7 separate regions of the Homo sapiens genome follow, and regions 1, 2, 3, 5, 6 and 7 are each linked to region 4. The links are contacts of gene promoters, found by promoter capture Hi-C in blood cells and fetal thymus (Javierre and others, 2016). All regions are on one chromosome and are shown on one strand. Each heading gives the region's core, a stretch centred on a gene start or on the middle of the fragment in contact. The rest is flanking DNA. Distances are from core to core; before and after follow the strand shown.

What was found. Contacts are between HindIII fragments. The CHiCAGO score rates a contact against its expected background, and 5 or more counts as called.
Region 1: a fragment that was not itself captured here is called in contact with the fragment with the promoter of PTPRB in region 4 in 11 of 17 cell types (fetal thymus, activated CD4 T cells, naive CD4 T cells and 8 more); the score reaches 9.8 in fetal thymus.
Region 2: a contact is called between a fragment that was not itself captured here and the fragment with the promoter of PTPRB in region 4, in 5 of 17 cell types (M0 macrophages, naive B cells, non-activated CD4 T cells and 2 more). The highest score is 6.1, in M0 macrophages.
Region 3: a fragment that was not itself captured here is called in contact with the fragment with the promoter of PTPRB in region 4 in 11 of 17 cell types (fetal thymus, total B cells, total CD8 T cells and 8 more); the score reaches 10.7 in fetal thymus.
Region 5: a fragment that was not itself captured here is called in contact with the fragment with the promoter of PTPRB in region 4 in 3 of 17 cell types (non-activated CD4 T cells, M1 macrophages and M2 macrophages); the score reaches 5.4 in non-activated CD4 T cells.
Region 6: a fragment that was not itself captured here is called in contact with the fragment with the promoter of PTPRB in region 4 in 4 of 17 cell types (total B cells, M2 macrophages, M1 macrophages and 1 more); the score reaches 6.1 in total B cells.
Region 7: a contact is called between a fragment that was not itself captured here and the fragment with the promoter of PTPRB in region 4, in 4 of 17 cell types (total B cells, naive CD8 T cells, activated CD4 T cells and 1 more). The highest score is 9.9, in total B cells.

What each region holds. Positions count from the first base shown.
Region 1 is chr12:69,903,317-69,906,078 of GRCh38, forward strand. It overlaps MYRFL (myelin regulatory factor like), which reads left to right. Exons shown (of 25, transcript NM_182530.3): 11 at 328-528. Among named protein-coding and RNA genes, the nearest start is that of MYRFL, 79 kb to the left of the region's middle. The HindIII fragment of the contact is 157 bases long and covers 1,190-1,346 here.
Region 2 is chr12:69,812,122-69,814,821 of GRCh38, forward strand. It overlaps RAB3IP (RAB3A interacting protein), which reads left to right. Exons shown (of 11, transcript NM_022456.5): 9 at 657-756; 10 at 843-912. Among named protein-coding and RNA genes, the nearest start is that of MYRFL, 12 kb to the right of the region's middle. The HindIII fragment of the contact is 1,314 bases long and covers 786-2,099 here.
Region 3 is chr12:69,886,218-69,888,917 of GRCh38, forward strand. MYRFL (myelin regulatory factor like) reads left to right here. Exons shown (of 25, transcript NM_182530.3): 6 at 603-753. Among named protein-coding and RNA genes, the nearest start is that of MYRFL, 62 kb to the left of the region's middle. The HindIII fragment of the contact is 206 bases long and covers 1,285-1,490 here.
Region 4 is chr12:70,636,101-70,638,800 of GRCh38, forward strand. PTPRB (protein tyrosine phosphatase receptor type B) reads right to left here and starts at 1,329. Exons shown (of 34, transcript NM_001109754.4): 1 at 1,241-1,329. The coding sequence starts at 1,295. PTPRR (protein tyrosine phosphatase receptor type R) reads right to left here. Exons shown (of 14, transcript NM_002849.4): 14 at 1,979-2,700. The HindIII fragment of the contact is 1,737 bases long and covers 374-2,110 here.
Region 5 is chr12:69,831,568-69,834,267 of GRCh38, forward strand. The region is part of intron 1 of MYRFL (myelin regulatory factor like); the gene reads left to right. Among named protein-coding and RNA genes, the nearest start is that of MYRFL, 7.7 kb to the left of the region's middle. The HindIII fragment of the contact is 5,618 bases long and covers 1-2,700 here.
Region 6 is chr12:69,868,468-69,871,217 of GRCh38, forward strand. All of the region lies in intron 2 of MYRFL (myelin regulatory factor like), which reads left to right. Among named protein-coding and RNA genes, the nearest start is that of MYRFL, 45 kb to the left of the region's middle. The HindIII fragment of the contact is 7,246 bases long and covers 1-2,750 here.
Region 7 is chr12:69,922,803-69,925,502 of GRCh38, forward strand. All of the region lies in intron 13 of MYRFL (myelin regulatory factor like), which reads left to right. Among named protein-coding and RNA genes, the nearest start is that of MYRFL, 99 kb to the left of the region's middle. The HindIII fragment of the contact is 1,180 bases long and covers 856-2,035 here.

The sequences.
Region 1 (2,762 bases), core at 18-2,517, 730 kb before region 4:
AAGATAGCCATTTTTAGTTTTCTTCTTTATCATCCACCTAGTATAACTGATCACATTCTTAATTCCAGATAGATGCAATAGAGATTGGATGTTTCAAATCAGGGTATACAGAGCTCCTGCTAGCGGGGAGGCAGAGTGGTTAGGGAAGCCTCCCTGGCTCTCCTGGGCCCCGGAATTACTTGGATATGTCAGAATGTCCCACTCAATACAGGATTCTCTTATGAAAGACTTAGATAATATTCAGTTTGCCTTTGCTCTGAACACTAATGTGATCATCTATTCCTGCTACTGTTACTTTAATTGTAATATATTTATGTATTTTTCCAGGCCTCTAACCCTGGGCAGTTTGAAAATGACAGTGATGCATTGTGGCAGCGAGGACAAGTTCCAGAATCTATTGTCTGTCACGGTCGAGTAGGAATCAACACAGATGCGCCGGACGAAGCCCTGGTTGTCTGTGGCAACATGAAAGTGATGGGGACCATCATGCATCCCTCTGACAGCCGGGCAAAGCAGAATATCCAGGAGGTGAGCACAGATTCAGGCCCTGGGCCCCTCCTCTGACACCCCAGTCAGGTTTGCTGGGTGCTCCTGGCCTCTGACACACCTTGAACCGCACATCTTTACATGTCACCCACTGGTGTGAGATGAACACACTGCTTAAAAATGATGACTGAGCTGCTGGGCATCTCTGCTGAAATTGTAAAGCAGTTCCTCCCTGAGAGAATGGATTTACCTGACAGGAGCAGTGGGCAAAGACAGCATGTCATTGGCCTCACAGGCAGCAAGTCTCAGTTATTTTCCACAGGCCATTGCCCTTCCTTCCATACTTTGTCAGCTTCCAGAGCTTGCCTTTTCCTTTCTGTCTCCCCACTCATCTTCCAAGCACTGTCTCAGTCCAGTTCCTGATCATATTTCTCTTGGATGTCTCCAGCCTCTTCCTTCTAGAGTCCCTGGCACCAACTCTACTGGCCATTATCTTCCCCAGGCATCGTCTTTCTCTAGGAACTCTTGAGAAGCTCCTCCTCCTCATCCCTTACTTGGTCAGTTCATCGCCAAGAGTTCCGGGTGAAGACCTTTTTCCTCCGTGGAGAGGCAGTTACCTAGAGGAAACCAGAAGTCAGGCCTAGATGTCAGGAGATGGCTTCTCCGCTTTGGGCTCTCCCCAGTTACGTGACCCTGGATAAAAAGCTTAATCTCCTTGAACTCAGTGTCTTCAGCTATAAGATGAAAATGGTGCCTGCCTGCCTGCCTGACACCCTTGGCTCTTTTTTATTTTTTAACCAGTTGAACTGAATCATCTTGGAAAGCTACAACTGCTATGTAGACCATAAGGATGAGGATTAAGCTTCCAATCCATCAGCCAGCTACTAACACCTCATTCCAACTTTTCTGCCATTTAATTATTTCCCATGCATTGCTTCTACCACTTCCCCATCATCTCACTCATACTACTTCTCTTGACAGCATTTGTGAAGCTGTGTTTTAAAAGTTCCTTTTCTCTCCTTTCCTTATCCCTTTTTAGCTAATAGAAGTCCTAATCTGTTCACTATTAGCCCCTCTTCCAGACTGCATTCCTTTCTCAGTGCAAATCTGCACTGGTTTTCCTAAACCAGCCAAGGAATGTCCTCCTTTGCTTAGAGGATTCCAAAGAATGGTTGTAATTGTAGACTTTTATACTGATTGTGAAGCTGCGGTTCATATTAGAAGAGCTGTGACCTACTAGCCAGATGGGAATGCAGAGCTAGAGAGTTCTTACATACATTTCCAGATGTCAGTCCTAGATATTGTGACTTTGAACTTTAGAGAGAGATCATCTGTCTGCATTTCAGGTCACACCAACTCAAATTTATCCTTGCAATTGGCTATACAATTCACTACCAAGTCTTACTAAAATGTAAATTGAATATAACAAGTGAGAAAAGTCCTGTACAACCCTTCCTGCTACCACCAGGCATAACACAGAACTTCATTTACAAAAAGTCTTCAAATATTGCTTGTTGGTTTGAAGAAAATATATTGTCTTAAAATAACAAGCTTCTGGAGAACTTCTCACATCCCTTCTAAAAAGCCTTCTCCATCTAAATGAAATGTCACTTCAATCCAGGCTCTAAATGTGAAATTTCTGTATCCCCTTCCTGCTCATGGCAGCATGATAGAATAAAGAAAATCCTGGTCCGTGGTTAGAAGTCTAAGAGTTTAGTCCTGACTCTGGCAACCACCAGCCCAGGAACTTTGGCCGAGAGGCGATCTGTGACTCTGTTTTGTTGTCTGTGAACAGGAAATGCTCATATTCATTTTACCCAGGTTAAGAGATTTTTCTAAACTCATATATGTAAGGTATTTTTTAGCCAGACAAGTCTAAGCAAAGAGAAATTATTTTCTATTTATACAAAATAAAAATTACATGTAATTTATTTATTAAATGATTTCATATTAATAGATTTGTTTTGATAAATCTGTGCACATTTTTGAGATATATATTTGTAGAAATCTTGTCTGTCCCAGTCCACTGTTTATTACAGAGATGAGGGAGATGATGGTAATGTTGATGATGCTGATGACAGATGTGTGAATTTCATCTTCACCTCTTCCTGACTTAGTTTTTGCAACTTTTAAAAAGAGAGCCTTTCTTTCATATACTCTGGGGATCTGACCCTTGGTCAATTTGATGGCATGCATAGGACTGGAAGCAATTTCTTATTCTTTAAGAGTGCATTCTAACCACAGCTGGCTTCTGAATGGATGAGCTGCTACAAAAT
Region 2 (2,700 bases), core at 193-2,692, 820 kb before region 4:
AATCAAAGTCCCTGCCCTCAAGAGGTTGATAGCCTAATCCCAGCCAGAAAGCCCTCATATAAAATTTTAGCTTTTGTCATATGCAAATAGAAAGGATCATGTGAAATTCAGTGAACTTGTTACATGATTGTTAAGATTCAGTATTTTTATAAGGTGGCTTATTCCTTTGTACTTCTCCCTAGGTCCCACATTAAATGCATATAGAGCAACCAACCAACCAAATAAACAAATACCCCATCTGGAAACTATTACCCTGCAAGCTATCAATAACATGCTTTGAGACTTGAACAGTCATCATGAGGATATTTTCAGCTGAGAAGCTGAAATCCTGATGGAAAGCTGAGAGCTGTCCTGCAGCTGATTACTGATTTGTAAATTTGTTCCAAGATGGGACATACATGGAAAACACCTAGTTTCTGTTTCTAGAATCATGGTTAATGTTATGGCATTAAACTTATACTACTAATAGAATGTAAGTCTCACAAGGGCAGAGACTTTGTCCTTTTCATCACTTTAGCCCAGCATCTAGAACGGTGCCTGGTACACAGTAGGTTCTCAAATATTTGTTATCTAACTGAATGAATAGGCAACTTGTACAGAAGGTAGGGGCAAATGCTTTTCATTTCAAAAAACTGAAATTTATCATTATTTCACAGAAAATGTGCTCTCACTGGCCAGAGTAAGTCCTGTAAACACAGAATTAAATTAGGGGACTCAAGCAACTATTATTATATTTCTCCTTTTTGCAGATACAGGGTAAGTGACTTAACCATGAATTTTAATAAAGCTTGCTTTGATATGGGACATTTGACCATTCATGACATTTTCTCCATTTGGCCTAGATCACTTCTGTATGTAACTTTTTTACATACATTCGATACATTCAGCAGGGACTCGTGAAACAGCAGGATGGTGAGTGTTCTTGATTCAATATAAGTCTTTACATAAAAGTTCAGCAAAAAGTATAAGTAAAGTTCAACAAAAAGTATAGAATAGTAGTAATGCTCATATCAGCTTTATTGTTGGTACATTTATATTGAATCCCTTCTATAGTTCTAATAAAATTTGTGGAGAATTTGGGAACAAATGTCTTTTAGAAAAATATTGTGTTTAATTATTTTATTTGCCTCATTTTACTCTTAATTTTGAATTTTAAGCAGGGTCAGTTTTAACTCATAAGGGGTATATGATAAACCAGATGGTAAATGAGAAGAGAGTTCTAAGCTCATTGAATTGACTCTTTAAGAGATGAAAATGAGTAGGCCAGCAAAGTGGTCAGATTTATTTTAATTGATGGAAACCATCATGGAGCTCAAAATTAAGTTTTCCCTGTATTTTCTACTTTTTGCGTGTGAATTAATAAAGCAGTCATGAGGATAATTCTGAATGGAATAAAGATTGCCATATTCTAAATCAGCAGAAATGTGCAGGTGATATATCCAGGAGAACCAACCTCATGAAAGTGTGTTAATATTTTTAATACAATTTTATAGCTAAATATCTTAAATATCAGGCATGAAAACTAATATGGCCTGACAGCTCCAAAGCAGTATCTCTCGAGCACAAATGATAGTTTAAAAAAAAAAATAGCAGATACTAGGCTAGGGACAAGTCTGTGCCAGTTAGTATTTAAAGTTTTACAAAATTTCCCTGTTTATATTTTTTAGGCACTGAAAATATTATCTTGCTTAAACACTGGTAGAAGCCTACCATCTTTCAATCATGTAAAGCAGTGAATCTTAATTCTATGGAGAAGTTAGTCACGCTGATAAAAACTTAGTTTAGCCTTTCTCAAGGTCTGGTATGTTGAAAAATGTCATATTTCTTTAAAATCCCATATAGTTGGATTTTAATGCCTAAAACATTAGAGATAAAACCTGTTAACCTAATAACCTGATAACCTAATTAATGTTGAATTTCAAAAGGCCTAATAACATAAAAACAGTCTTTAAACTGTGTAATACTTTTTTTGACTTTAATAAAACTGAATTCTTTTTGAATACCTGTTGATGGATAATATAATTTAAGCCAGAGAACAGAAAATTTATGTTAAGTATAATTGCCAAGAATATAATATTTTTCTGTTTGTTTAAATAAGAAGCTTGGAAAGACAGAAAGATAATTTACTTTATGAAAATAGGAAGAAAGTGTTACGAGTAATGAATGGTGAGGGTGTTGATAATAAAAGTAGTATATCTTCTCTGGTTTCTGTCACTCTTCCACTTTATGATATTTAGTACATATCATTTAGTATGTGTGTTTGTTGTAAACAGGTATTAGTCTTAAAATCTGTTTATTATATGTGCCTTGTGCCAACAAAGGATTTAGGGCAGCTAAATCTAAAGCAGAATTTCTCGACCTTGGTACTAGTGACATTTTGAGCTGGATAATTCTTTGTTGTGGGGGACGGTCTTGTGCATTTGTAAGATGTTTAATAGCATCCCTAGCTTTTACTCATTAGATACCTGTAGCACCCCCGAGATGGGACAGTGAAAAATGTTTCTATTCATTGCCAAACGTACCCTGGAGTGGCCAGGGAATGAGGAGTGGTGGTGGTGGTAGTGGTGGAATCTTCCCTGATTGAGAACCATTGATCTAAATGAATATAATCTGATCATATATCAAACGAAGACCTTTTATTGTCTGAAATAAGGAGCCAACGTTTTTCCACTTACAGTGGGAACTTACAAAAGTATAGGT
Region 3 (2,700 bases), core at 138-2,637, 750 kb before region 4:
TCAGATGACACCATGAGGACTGGTGCCCTTCATTTTTAACTCTGCCTTCTGCTGTGCTGGCATCATTCCCAGATGGGCTTTTCCCTCATGTCCGAAAATGGTGCCAGCAGCTGTTGGCGATGTATCTTGCAGGTTCAAACCTCATGGAGAAGAGTGAGCATCCCTGAAGTGCTGAGATCCACTCTGCTTGAATTGGGATAGGCCACATGTCCACCACTGATGCAATTACTGATGCAAGGACTGAATGCTGTACTTTGGTTGATTGAGCTGGGTCACCTATCCTCCCGGCTCTGGGAATGAACTTCACTGCAACCACACAGACTGAAAGTGAGGAGAAGCTATGCAGGATGTAGGGTAGATAGATATCAGGGACAAAGTTTCCAACAGGTGTTTACCCCCCACCCTTTGACAACGCTGACCCCAGGCTGCTCCTTTCACAGATGAGAAAATGAGGTCAGCAACACACCTCCTACCCCCAGCACATGACACTTCCCTAGTCACTCTGCCTTACACATGGCCCACTCATCAGCTTCATGCTGCTAGCTGTGAGTTTAGGAAAAACAGCCTGGAAGGAAGGCTCTGACGCACCTGTTTCTTTGCAGTGACAAGTAGGAGTCGCAGCAGTGAAGTCCAGGACCCTGACAGTGAGGGACAGAACAGAATGCCTACAGACCAGTGCTCTCCTGCTCTGAAGTGGCAACCATGCCATAGTGTTCCTTGGCACAGCTTATTAAACAGTCATTATGAAAAACTGTAAGTGGCTTGAGTGGGCTGGAGAGTGAGGGGAGAAAGACAGTGCTAAATCTCAGTACTGAGTTCAAGCACTGGAGCTTTGATGTCACCTCTGGTCAAGTGGGGCAAATCAGTGAGAAAGTGTCTGTCTTACTCCTCATTTTTTACATCCTAACAAATAAATAGTTGGAATATGGGTTTCTGGCCTTCAGAAAGCCAGACTTATAGTTCCACCTGATTATAATTTAACCACTAAATGATGGAGAAAGAAGGAATCTTTCTGGGATCACATGCCCAGTTTAAACTAAAAACTGGAATATAAACATTCCCCAAATCACTAACACTTAATCCTGCAGTTAACTTATAATGCCATAAAATACTTTTCTGGGGGCCACATTAAATTGTGAGCCAATGACCACCCCCCACGTATATGCTGTGAATGAATATTACCAAGTTCACTGACAATATATCCTGCAGCAATCGTGGTAGATGGTTTCTTTATGTTAAGGAGTCTGAAGTCAAATCATACAAAACATCCTAAAAAAGTGGAAAAGCTTCACCCAATTTTTATGACATAAGATAGTTTCAAGAAATAAATGTGCAATCCTATATTATTACTCTTAAACATCCTTTAGACTTCTTTATTTCTTAGCATGTAATTTACCTACTTAAGCCTTCTAGAATTTTCATTGGGCTATAACTTAAGTTAAAATTTTCCAAATTCAAATTTTAAAATTTTCCAAATTCAAATACTGTAAAGCTTATCACTAGGACTTTCATGGTGGATGTACTAGAGGGAAGAAATATTTTCCTTAAAAGAAAATCTAGGGAGTTAAACAGACTTTGGGAGTTGGTGTGTTTAATAAGCTAAAGGAAGCTCATTGCTCATTGTATCATTGAAATGTCATGACTTTGTGTCTTTTCTACTGTGTGCAATTAGAAAAAGAAATGAGGGGTCCATGGGTTTTGGCTTTGAGGCTTGGCCTTCCTTAGATTATCTTTTGGGGAACATTCCATGTTTTGTAAGAAATATGAGCACCGAGGTATGAAACTGTCACACGCAGGCTCAATGCTTTAATTAAAACTTAACTGCTTCCCAGGCTCTATGCATCAAGTTGATCAAGTTTTCAAGGTAAGTGTTATCCCTCTTCTTATTTGAAAACATTTTTAAGTTTGTTTGAACAGCCTATCTTGGCTCCAATAATCTAGAAAAATATGGAGAACACAGAGTATATGGAAACAAAGGAGAACACAGATGGTATCAACTCAAAAGTAATGAGGCAGATTTATGTTGAGTATTTAGCCATAATTCACTTTTCCTAAGCAAAAAAGGAAGGCAATATTTACCCAGTTTAGAATTCAGGCCCTCCTAATTTCACTATTTATATCAATGAGACAGAAAAACACCCATCTTTTCTTATATAGTTAGGTCTAATTTGTTACAAAAATATCATTTTCTTAAGTAACCTAAAAACAGTTCAGTTAGGGCATTAAAATTTTATCAATTTTTTTCTGAATTATGTTTCAATGCTATCAAAGAACTTTTAAAAAGCCAGTTTAATTGACTTTATACTTAACTTTTGATATCAGAAGCAGAATCGCCATTCTTAGGTAAGCAGATTTCTATAATCAGAGATTGGTGTTTAAGGTTCAGAATAATCATCAACAGTATAACTCTTACTGATTGATTCCGTTTCTGATTATTGCTGCCCTAAATTTCAGCCTAACGCTCATATCTTAGCTGTACTTTTTTTCTTCAGAGTTTTTGACAGTGAAGCATAAAACATCACCAAAAATGTTTTATTCTCAACTAAGACGGTTCTTATTACCCTCTGTAGTAAAATCTACATAATTCTACCCATCTAGCCTTTAGATGAACAAATTAGCAGATTAATTCTAGAAACTTGAGTCAATAAGCAGTTTCCAGATGGCATAAGATGTGTAGTCTTTATCAAATTCTTCATTCAG
Region 4 (2,700 bases), core at 79-2,578:
CAAATTATGAGGCCCATTAGAAAACGGAAGAACCCACCCACAAATGAGCTAAATAAAATCACTAGTTTTACTTATATTTTGTTATTTCTATCATTTCAAGTGAACATTCTCATATTTAACACATGTGATTTAAAATTCCAAAGCTGACGATATAAAATGTCAATATGTTACACTTAACTCCCCATCTTTTTTTTTTTTTTAATTTTCACATGCTTTAGGGGAAAAAAGCACACCTCTTATTGGAAAATGAAAGGAAGCTTGGAAAGAAACAAAACCATCCAAAGTATATAGTATATTTTAGCCCAATTAGTTAGATATGCTGAAGTTATGAAATGCTCAGCTCCCTTTTTAACCATTTGACATATTCGATATAAGCTTCCTCCCTTACCTTAAAAAAGCACCCCCTTTTCCAGTCTTTAAATTCACATTGCAGTATTTATATACAAATTTCATAGTTTGAATAACAATTTTTTAAAATTGCATACATTTATCAAAAAATAAAACAAATTTTCCCACTTCTCCAAGCACAACCTCCTAGCTAATTGCAGCCAATGAAAGTATTGATTATCACAAACTAAATTTCCTTTAGTCGTGGAGAGGAGCATTTCTCTATTTTATGACAATATCTACAGTTTTCTCTCAAATACGAATAGATTTTCTAAAAATCATCATGTGCCAGTGTAAGAAAATTAAACATCAAATTGCTAAACATCAGTATTAAAGAGCAAGATACTCTGGCTCAGAAACCATTTTCAATGAGGTTTTACTTAAATTGCCCAGCTCGCTCATGAAAATGTTCAGCCCTCCCAAATGACAACTTCCAAATAAAACACACTACATTTCCTCACCCCCTTTAATCATATTCCTTCAATTTTCTTTCTTCAACACAAAAGAAAATAAAACTATAACCGGGTCGGAAAAAGGCTTGGGGAAAGCCACAGACTGTTATATAATAATACAAACTTTTCCTCGGGGTTCTTTACGCTCTGCTCTAAATGTATCATTTCAGGGGCTGCCTGAAGCATTTGGAGGATGAGAGGAGAGCATTTATTTTCTTTTGGAGAGAAATCTCAACAGTATGGGCATAGCTGGCTCCTTTTATTCCTGCTTTTCATCGTCTTTGGCTAAACTGCCATGGAGACCTGGCCCCTTCTACCTTATTTCAGACACTTCAAAGACCAGGGACTCCTTGGCTAGATCTTGAAGAAATGCCTCAGGACACTGAGGCAGACCCACTCACCTGAGTTCCTGAAGATCAAGCAGGTAAGAATCACCATGTAAAATTCAGCCTCCATTTTCCACTTAGCAACTGTTCATGCTTCGCTTGGGGAAAAAAAAAATTCTCCCAGATAAGAGAAGCAAAGACTAGGAAGGAAATGTGCCTTCATGGTGGGGGGAAAAGTCAGTGACGAGCACTTCCTCCTATTGAATTGTTTGGGGAAGTTTTACACCAGTGTCCTTTTGTCTGTTTCCTTAGAAAGAAGGGATTATGATTACCTCTTTTTTTTAATGTAGAAAATATTCCAGCCTTCAAGAGCAGAGTAAATCTCGTTAAGACCTCACCTACCTTTCCTTTGGCATGTGACTGCTTCTTAACCTCAAGAAGAAAGAAAGGAATTGAAATCTCAGATAATTGAATGTTCCTGAAACATTACATCTCTTCAGGTGATGTGATTCTGCTGAATAAACATAAGCCATGTAATTGATGAGGGTCTATGACAAGTGATATAAAGACATAAACATGTACTGTTTGTATAATGATATGCTGCGAGTCTATTGAGGAAAACCACATAATGATGGCACTTCTAGATCATTATCTCCCAAGTGATGACAATATTACATTTTGAGATCGTCATCTTCACTGGGGAGATGCAGACACTAAAATTAAACCCATCACATTATCTACTTTGGTCTTCCCCAAACAGAGGATGGCGTCTTTCCAAATAGAAAAAAAAAAAAGAATATGCTTTACTCAGTATTTAGTATTAAGAGTTTATTGGCAGTATGAAACAAAGTCAACATTGCTGCATTAAAAATTCATATATGAGCAGAACAGCTAGTGTTTGCTGAGGGTAGTTATTTTAATTTTTTTTGTCTCTTGAAGATTGAAAGCTTTCAGAAATGTAAGGACATACATGGAAATGTCCTTATAAGGAGCCTCGAAAATGGGACAGATTATATCATTCCTGAAGGCATATACCTTTTGTTGAGAGAGAGATTCCAGGTAGATAGCATATTCAAAAATCCCTTCTTAGCAAAAGAGAGACAAGTAGTTAAAACTCTTGATACTTCAGAGTTGCTACAAATTTGTTTTTCCCTTTTAAAGTAAAATGACTCACGATGTGGAAATACAGTGGATAGAGTTCTGGAGCAGAAGCCACCTTTATGCCCAATAATAGAGAGTAAATACATATATACCCAATGACAATCATTGTGCTCTGTAATTGTTTGATAGGAGGGACTATAAATACACATTTAATAGGTAATATTATCAAGACACATTTCCATATAAAATAGTTACTGTTTTTGATTTTTGTTTTTCAAAAACAAAGACTTCTCTGTTAAAAATCCATTATCAATCACTTGCAACTTTAGCAGCAAGATTCTGGTAACTGAGAAAGGTAATAGCACTTCAAAACAGGAACAGTTTAACAGCTGACAGTCCATTCACAAGACAGATTTTGCAAACATTAAAGCATC
Region 5 (2,700 bases), core at 41-2,540, 800 kb before region 4:
CCTTAATTTCCTTGCTTGTAAAATGGGGATAACCCTATTATCTCAAAATGTTGTGAAGCACTATGCCTGGCACAGAGAGACAGTAATTTTTAGTTCCTAGTATTCTCATTGTTTCTTAATTATTATTTTCTCCGTTTAGCATCAAGGCAGCCCTGGGGGATTTCTATCCTTGTATGAGAAACATGAGGCTGACAGAGGTTAGGTAACTTGCTTGCGGGTTATCCACATAGTAAGTGGCTGCAAGGTCATTTATTCCTTACCTTGTTTATTCAGTCAGTTGTCAAAGTCAAAATAAAAATGTAGAGATGAATCTCTAAATTTAATGTTTTATTTGGGAAGAAAGAATTGCAATTTGGAGCATACAGGCAGGCTAGGTTGTCTTTGGTATGCTTGAAGAATAAAGAGGAGGCTGGAGGTTTTATAGAAAGGAGAAATGTTATGTCTTGTTCTTTGAGGAAATTAATTGGCACTATTAAAGTTTAGGGAGCTGGCAAGTTTTGGTTGGTGAGTGACAGTGGTGGGTAAAACTAGTATTAAAAGTTGTAGCAGGTTGTTTCAGCAACGATTAGATATAAAACTGGTCTAAGTTTATATAGCAAGCAGTTTCAGCATCCAGGCTTGTAGAGAATTACATTTTTTGAGCAATGTTATATGCCCTGAGTGCTTTCTCCCCCTGGCCTCATGACTCTGTTTTAGTTGGCTATGACAAGAATGACCTAATTTGTGTGATCAACTTTCACACAATCAAAAAATATTTGACTGTCTCTCATGAGCCTGCTGCTCTCCTAAGAGCCAGGGACTCTGTGATGAATTAGCAGAATCCTTGCCTTATAGTGGCTTCTTCTCTAGATGAAGGGAGAAGACGATAGGAGATAAATAAAACAATGATTTCAAAATGTCATTAATTATGAAGAAAATAAAACCGGATGGTGGTGCAGAGAGTCTGATGAAGAGAGAGTTACTTGAGCTAAGACAATCAGGAATGGTTTCTGAGGGGATGACATTCAAGCTGAGACCTGAAGAATGACCAGAAGCAAGTCATGCATCTGTCTGGGAGAAGAACATTTTAGGTAAAAAGAGCAACTGTGCCGTCACTGAGCTTGAAGTGGTTGGGAGAGGGGTAGGAAAGGAACAGTGAGGTGGAAGCGCTTGAAGTGTGAGTGACAATGGGGAGGGTGGTAGAAAATGACATTAGAGTTTGGATTTTTATTCTCAGTGTGGAGAGTTTTAAGCAGGAGAACAGGCAGGGGCAGATGGGTGGGACGTGGGTGTGAGGAAGACAGAGGAATCTGTTTAGGATGATGCCTAGGTGTTGGTGTCAACAATTCATGGATGGTAGTACAATGTACTTAGATGTCGAAGACTGAGGAACAGGCTTGTGTGTGTGTGTGTGTGTGTGTGTGTGTGTGTGTGTGTGTGTAATTAAGAATTCATTTGGGACATTTTACGTTTGAGATCTCTTTTAGACAACCAAGTGGAAGCGATGAGGAGGCAGTTGGATTATTGAATTTGAAACCCAAGGAAGGATTAGAGCTGCTGTTGTCAATTTGGGAATCATCAGCTTAAAGAGTCATCAGTTTAAAGCCCCTGAGACTAAGTGAGATCACCAAGAAGAGTACAGATAGAGAAAAGGGTCCCAGATCACATTTTGGGATCCAAGTGAAAGTAACTAGTAAAGGAATGTTTAGTGAGGTAGGAGGGAAACCAGAAGAGTGTGGTTGTTAAACTAGGAAAGAAAGTGTTTCAAGAAGAATATGGTTAAACGTTTCAAATGTTTCTGAAATACAAGACAATTGCCTATAGAATCTGGGGAAAAGAAGGTTGTATGTGACCTTGAAAAAAGGATTTCGTGCAGTGGGGAAGGATGTCCAGTCAGTGGGTCGAAGACAGCAGCCTGTGATCAGTAAGAAAACCACTATCATTTAATGAAGGAAAACCACTGCCATTTAATGAATGCTTTACTTTATGTTGGATATTGTACTAAGACTTTATATTAATTCTTAATTTGCACAACACAATGAATGATAATGTTGTCAGTATTTTAGAGAGGAGGAAACAGATTCAGAGAAGGTATGTACTTTGCCCAAGGTAGCACAGCTATTAGGTATGTGAAGTGCTTAGATTTGGACAGAAGTCTGTCTGGCTCTGAAGGCTTGTGTCCCTATCCACTGTGCACATTGTCTTCTAATCAGGTCACAGGGAACATCTATAGAGATAGTTGTAGAACTCATGTCTCCTGTGAAGCAGAAGATAGGGCTTGCTTTTTTTTTTTTTTTTTTTCGGTACAATTTGCATGTAAAATTATTCCGGACTGCTAGCAGTTGGCACTTTACTGCCATCTGCCATTATTCCTTAGAAAATCCCAGCTCTAGCACAATAAGATGAGGTGTTAGTGGTAAAAAGGTAATGGTTTATGTTCATTGAGCAGGCAGCTCCAGAAACTCATAATGTAAGTCCACTAATAAGAGTACAAAGATATCAGAACACCATCACTGTTCTTTAGTCCTGCTCTGTGCATAACAAAAATATACAGAGGAAAGTTAGGCAGCAGGCTATGCTCAGAAGTGCAGTATAAATATTAACTCTTAATCTTGTAATTTTGGGTAATCTGACTCAGGACAAAAAGTCCAGCAAGATGGGACCCCAGTGGTTGATACCCTGGTATTAACAATATAAGAAACAAATGTCATATATGGCAAT
Region 6 (2,750 bases), core at 20-2,519, 770 kb before region 4:
AGAGTTGTGGAGGTTAAATGAGACACACATGCAAAGGGTTAGCATGGTGCCTGGCTCAGAGTAGGTTCTCAAAAAAGTTTCTCTACATCTAAAGCAGCAGCGGAGGGGTGTGAAAGGGTCAGATCCTTGCAGTCTGCCAGCACAGAGCTGGAGGGGAGGAGTGGCATCTTCTTTGCCTTGTTTTTTGCTGCCATATCATGAAATGGTTTTCTTGGGCAACCATACTCATTGACAACATTTCTGCCAAAACCCTTTCCTGTATCAACTTCTAGATGGTGGTTACAAGCCCTAACTGACCTTGATCAAGTATTTATTGAGTGCCTGTCACAGTCTCCCCATTGGAGCACTATGGAGTGCACATGTACACACACATGCACAGCATGCACACATGTGCACACACACGCGCACACACATGCACTCACACACACGTACGCACACGCGCACACACACATGTACTCACACGTACACACAGATATGCACTCACACATGCCCACATGTGCGTGCACACATGCACTCACACATGCACACACACATGCACACACATACACTCACACACAGAGTAGGAAGACATATTCTTAATGTGAAAGTTCATGCGGAAAGATAAATCATATACATGAAAAATTGGAGGAAATACTTTAAATAACAACCATTTTTATAGTTGGAGGATGGGGTAAAACAGTGAACAAAACAGATATAATCCCTGCCAGTAGCTCCCCAAGGGCAGTGTGGTGGGTACAGTCTGCCCTGGCAGGGCACCCAGGCATTTTTCTTAGAATTGGTGATGCATGGTGATAATAAAAAGCAGACTGACTCTTTGTAGGCTTAGTATTGTTTTCAAATTGTCTACAGACAATGCATTTCCTTATTGCCTGCACCTGGGGTGAGCAATTCCCATCCCCTCATCCTTGGCACACCATTACTGTCATGCCACTCCGGTGGGAAGAAAAAGACAATGGCAGGTAGTCTAAAGTCACTCAGTAAGATGAAGACAAATAAGAGTAAGGCAAGGAGGAGAGGCTACCATTTTAGATTGGGTGGTCAGGAAAGCTCTCTCCTGATATATGGATTTATATATACGGCATATTCATGGTCATATGTAGTTTAACACAGTCTTTCGTATTTGTTATGCACCAACTCTGTATTGGGCACTGTGCTGAGCCGAGCTCAGTGTGAGGTGCAATAGAGCTTTAGAGAAGGGGCGGTTGGTGTTGTATGAAGGCACCGAGGGATTCATTGGAGAAAACTAGGATTGGATGGCTCAATTGTGAGTATCCCACCTAGATATTCACATGAAGACACACTGTGTATGTGTCTTGCCTAATGTCTGGTAGAGTCATGAGCACAGTAGGCACTCAGTAAAGACTTAGTAAGCCTGGTTGCAATATGAAAGAAATACTGGCTGCATTGAGGGCAGCATATATGTCATGGATGTACATATCACCTCAACTAGCTGGAGGGCAAAGTCTATTTTGTACGCCCTCTTTTGGTTCACATAGATTCAACCCCTGGGAGATTGTTTCTCCGTTCATCCTCCAAAAGACAAAAAACAAGTTGTATGTCTGAGAGGAAGGAGTTTAGAAGGCAAATTATTTTATTTTTATCAGCTGCTAAGAATCTCTTGATTTTTCTTCCTTTTTTTTTTTTTTTTTTTTTTTTTTTGGGACAGAGTCTCACTCTGTTGCCCAGGCTGGAGGGCAGTGTTGAGATCTCGGCTCACTGCAACCTCTGCCTCCTGGGTTCAAGCAAGCACGTCTGGCTAATTTTTTTTTTTTTTTTTTTTTGGTATCTTTAGTGAAGACAGGGTTTTGCCATGTTGGCCAGGCTGGTCTTAAACTCCTGACCTCAGGTGATCCACCCGCCTCGGCCTCCCGAATCTCTTGATTTTTACAACTCTTTCCTGCTGAAGCTAGAGACAGGGTTGGCCGCTCAGGGTATGACCCATAGTGTCTGTTGCTCTCTGGTGTTTGTCTGCTTTATGGAAATCCTTTTGGTATAATAGACAAGTTTGGCGCACAAAGACTGAAACACAGTCTGATGTGCATTTCTGGGATTCTTGACATGACGATTGTGAGTAAAAGGGGCTAAGAAGTGAAGAAAAAATACCAAACAAGTGTTTTACTAGGAGCTAATCATTGCTCTTGTTTTAACAATTTGGTCAGTTTGAAGGTAGCTATCATTAATTCTCCCTTCAAATTCTCTGAAAAGAAGTGCAAAATTTCTCTAACTGTATTTAAATGCATTGAGCATGGAAGCATATAAAATACAATGAAATAAAGGAGTAGCTGTGGTGAATTTTGGAAGGGGAAGGAACTCTAAAGACAGCATTTAATATTTTAAAATCTTCATCTTAAAACCACCAACACATATTCCTGTCACTCAACGCAGGGACTTTTGGTTCTCGTTAAGGGACTGCTGGATGGAGACTGCATTCCTGTTTACAATATGCCAAGCCATATTTTTTTTAGTAGATTGATCATTTAATTGTGATTTTCAGTTTTTATTACATTATTGAATTCAATGATGCCTGTAGTGTCAGGGTAACTAAACAACTGCCTAGAGCCTTAAATGTGGAATTATGAGATCACAGAGTCAGTTACAAAATTTAATTTATAGACCTAGAGTGATACATGTGAAGAATTTAAGAAGTCAAATGATACTGTATATAGCATATAATAGGAGATTACCAGCAATCCCCCTGCTCTACCCCTGTCTTTAAATTGGCTCCCCCAGAGGCAGCCACTTTCCAACTC
Region 7 (2,700 bases), core at 196-2,695, 710 kb before region 4:
AAACAAATACATGCAATAGTTTTAGTAGACATTGAGGATTATTGCCTAGATCTATTGTTTCATTAGGTGTTGGAAAACAGTGATACTCTATCATTTCTTCTTCATTTATTCTCTGGAATTTATTATCTGGAATACTTTTTAAATGAACTTTCAAATATGTAGATGTTATATAGGACAGGCAGGACAAAGTTTTATTCTTTTATTTACAAGATTTAAAAAAAATGAGTTAAGCCCTTAATGTCTCCCAAAGGTAAATAATAAACTATTTTTAAAAATTGAATAGGATTTTGGATGCTTTTAAAGCACATTTGATTCTTTGTTCTATCATGGTAATTAGCCCTTTAATGTTCTATCTTTGGCCAATGAGAGCTTCTTCAGTTAGCTCCTGAGTCATTTTGACCCAACCACAGTACTCTGTGATAGCTTCCTTATTTTCTCATATTGAAAGATGTTCCAGGTTCACCTCAGACATATCTTACCCCAAATCTGGAAAAGTACTCAAAATCTGGGTCCTTTCACTGGGAATGGTATTTAGAGACTACAATGAGGAGTCTTCATGGTTAGTAGGTGGGAAGTTTTTTTCCAGTCCTTTTTAGTTAATGTAGCTAGAAAATGTCTTTTTCTTTTAAGAAATAAAATATATCAGAAATTAATAGTAATATTTCTAACTTAAATTTAGATTTGCTAGGGTTTTACTAAATGTTTTAATTTTATGTTTATATCTCTTTTCTTAAATGCTAAAAATCTTGGTTTATAGCACTATTAACTATGTATTTGTTTTATCCAAATATATATGTGTGCTATCTATGTGTGTATAATCCATCACTATTATTACTAACAGTATGATTATTGAAAAGCTTAAGATTCCCTTGCTGGTTGATTTTTTTTTTAAATTTTTATTTTTTGTCTTTAGGCTCTATCTCTCTGGGAATGGGCAGTCAAATTACTATGTTTTGAAGTCACTTAATGTCAATCTTCACTGTAAGGTTAAACCAGAAACTCAATACCCAATTAGGCTTATTTGTTTTATTTTGCCTTCTGTTTCTAGGGGATGTTTTTAAAAATTTTGTTTATTTTTTATACATATTTAAAATACCTACATATGGGCCAGGCGCAGTGGCTCATGCCTGTAATCCCAGCACTCTGGGATACCAAGGAGGGTGGATCACGAGGTCAGGAGATCAAGACCATCCTGGCTAACACAGTGAAACCCCGTCTCTACTAAAAATACAAAAAATTAGCCGGGCGTGGTGGTGGGCACCTGTAGTCCCAGCTACTCAGGAGGCTGAGGCAAGAGAATGGTGTGAACCCGGGAGGCAGAGCTTGCAGTGAGCCGAGATCATGCCACTGCACTCCAGCCTGGGTGACACAGCAGGACTCCGTCTCAGAAAAAAAAAAAAAAAAAAAAAAATCGTAAAATACCCACATATTCTAAAGGTTAATTTATAAAAACAGGATACATTCAGAGAATCTGGGTTCTATCCATTTCACCCATCTTGTTTCTTCCTTTCCATTATGTGTAACAATTTTAAGTTAGTTTTTGTTTATTCTTCATTTTATTAATGTAAGAAAATGTAGACATGTTTTGTATTCTTCTTATACTACAGACTTTGCTCCATAACAGTATATAGAGATATTCTTCCTTTCTTTTTACAGTTGCATAGTATACTGCTATGCAAATGTACCACAGTTTATTATCAATTCCCCTATTAATGGACATTTTGTTTGATTGTGGTCTCTTTTATTTCTTAATTTTCTCCAGGAGATCTGTGGAATAGACTCCTAGAAGTGGGTGTACTGGCTCAAAAATAAAAATATATGTAATTTTGCTAGATATTGCTAAATTCTACTCCAGATGGTTTTATCAATTTGTTATTTGGATGGATTTTGAAGGATGTATGGTAAGACTTCAGGAAAAATATAGGGTTTTCTGATGACATTTGAAAAGCTGATACAAGTATGATTTTTTTTGTTGTTGGATTTTTTGTGTTTTTTTGGTAAGTTTTCTTGAAGCAAACATAGGCCTCAGAAATCAAGCTTTTGGTCATTTTACATCCCAAATACAAAGGTTTTCTGCTTCTCTAAGCTGCTAACTCATAGCACTTTTCAATTCACTTGTGTCCATTCTTACTGAGCATTTCCAGTGGGCAAAGGCATGTGCTAAATGCTGGTGAGATATGCAAATAAATCAACATAATTCTGCCTGCCACAAACTCATGATCCAGGTGGGAGACAGACATATAACACCTGATACAAGGCAAATGGCCAGGTGATAGAATTGAACATGCTTTGAGGACACTGTAGAGTGAGGGATGCTCTCTGACTAGTGGTCTCTGGGGAGATACTGGGTATGATGGGATTTGGACTGGCCTTGAGGAAAGGCATTTTTATCTTAGGTAATTATGGGAATGAGGTCTCAGACACTGGAGAGTGCAGGGTGTTCAGGGGGCCTCAACAGATCTGTGTGGCTGCTCTGGGAGTTTCAGAGAGTTCTCCAGTGTATCATGAGATACATCTGTCTTTGAACTGCGTACACTAAGCCTTGAATCTGGAATGTTCAGCTTTTGATTCTTTCTGAGTGATTGCTCTACAGTGTTCGAAACCCTCAAAGCTTCAGTTTGGATGATAAGAATCTCAAAGGCACATAGCCCTGAGTTTGACCCTCAACCACAAAACAGTCTCTATTGCCCTTGAACTCAG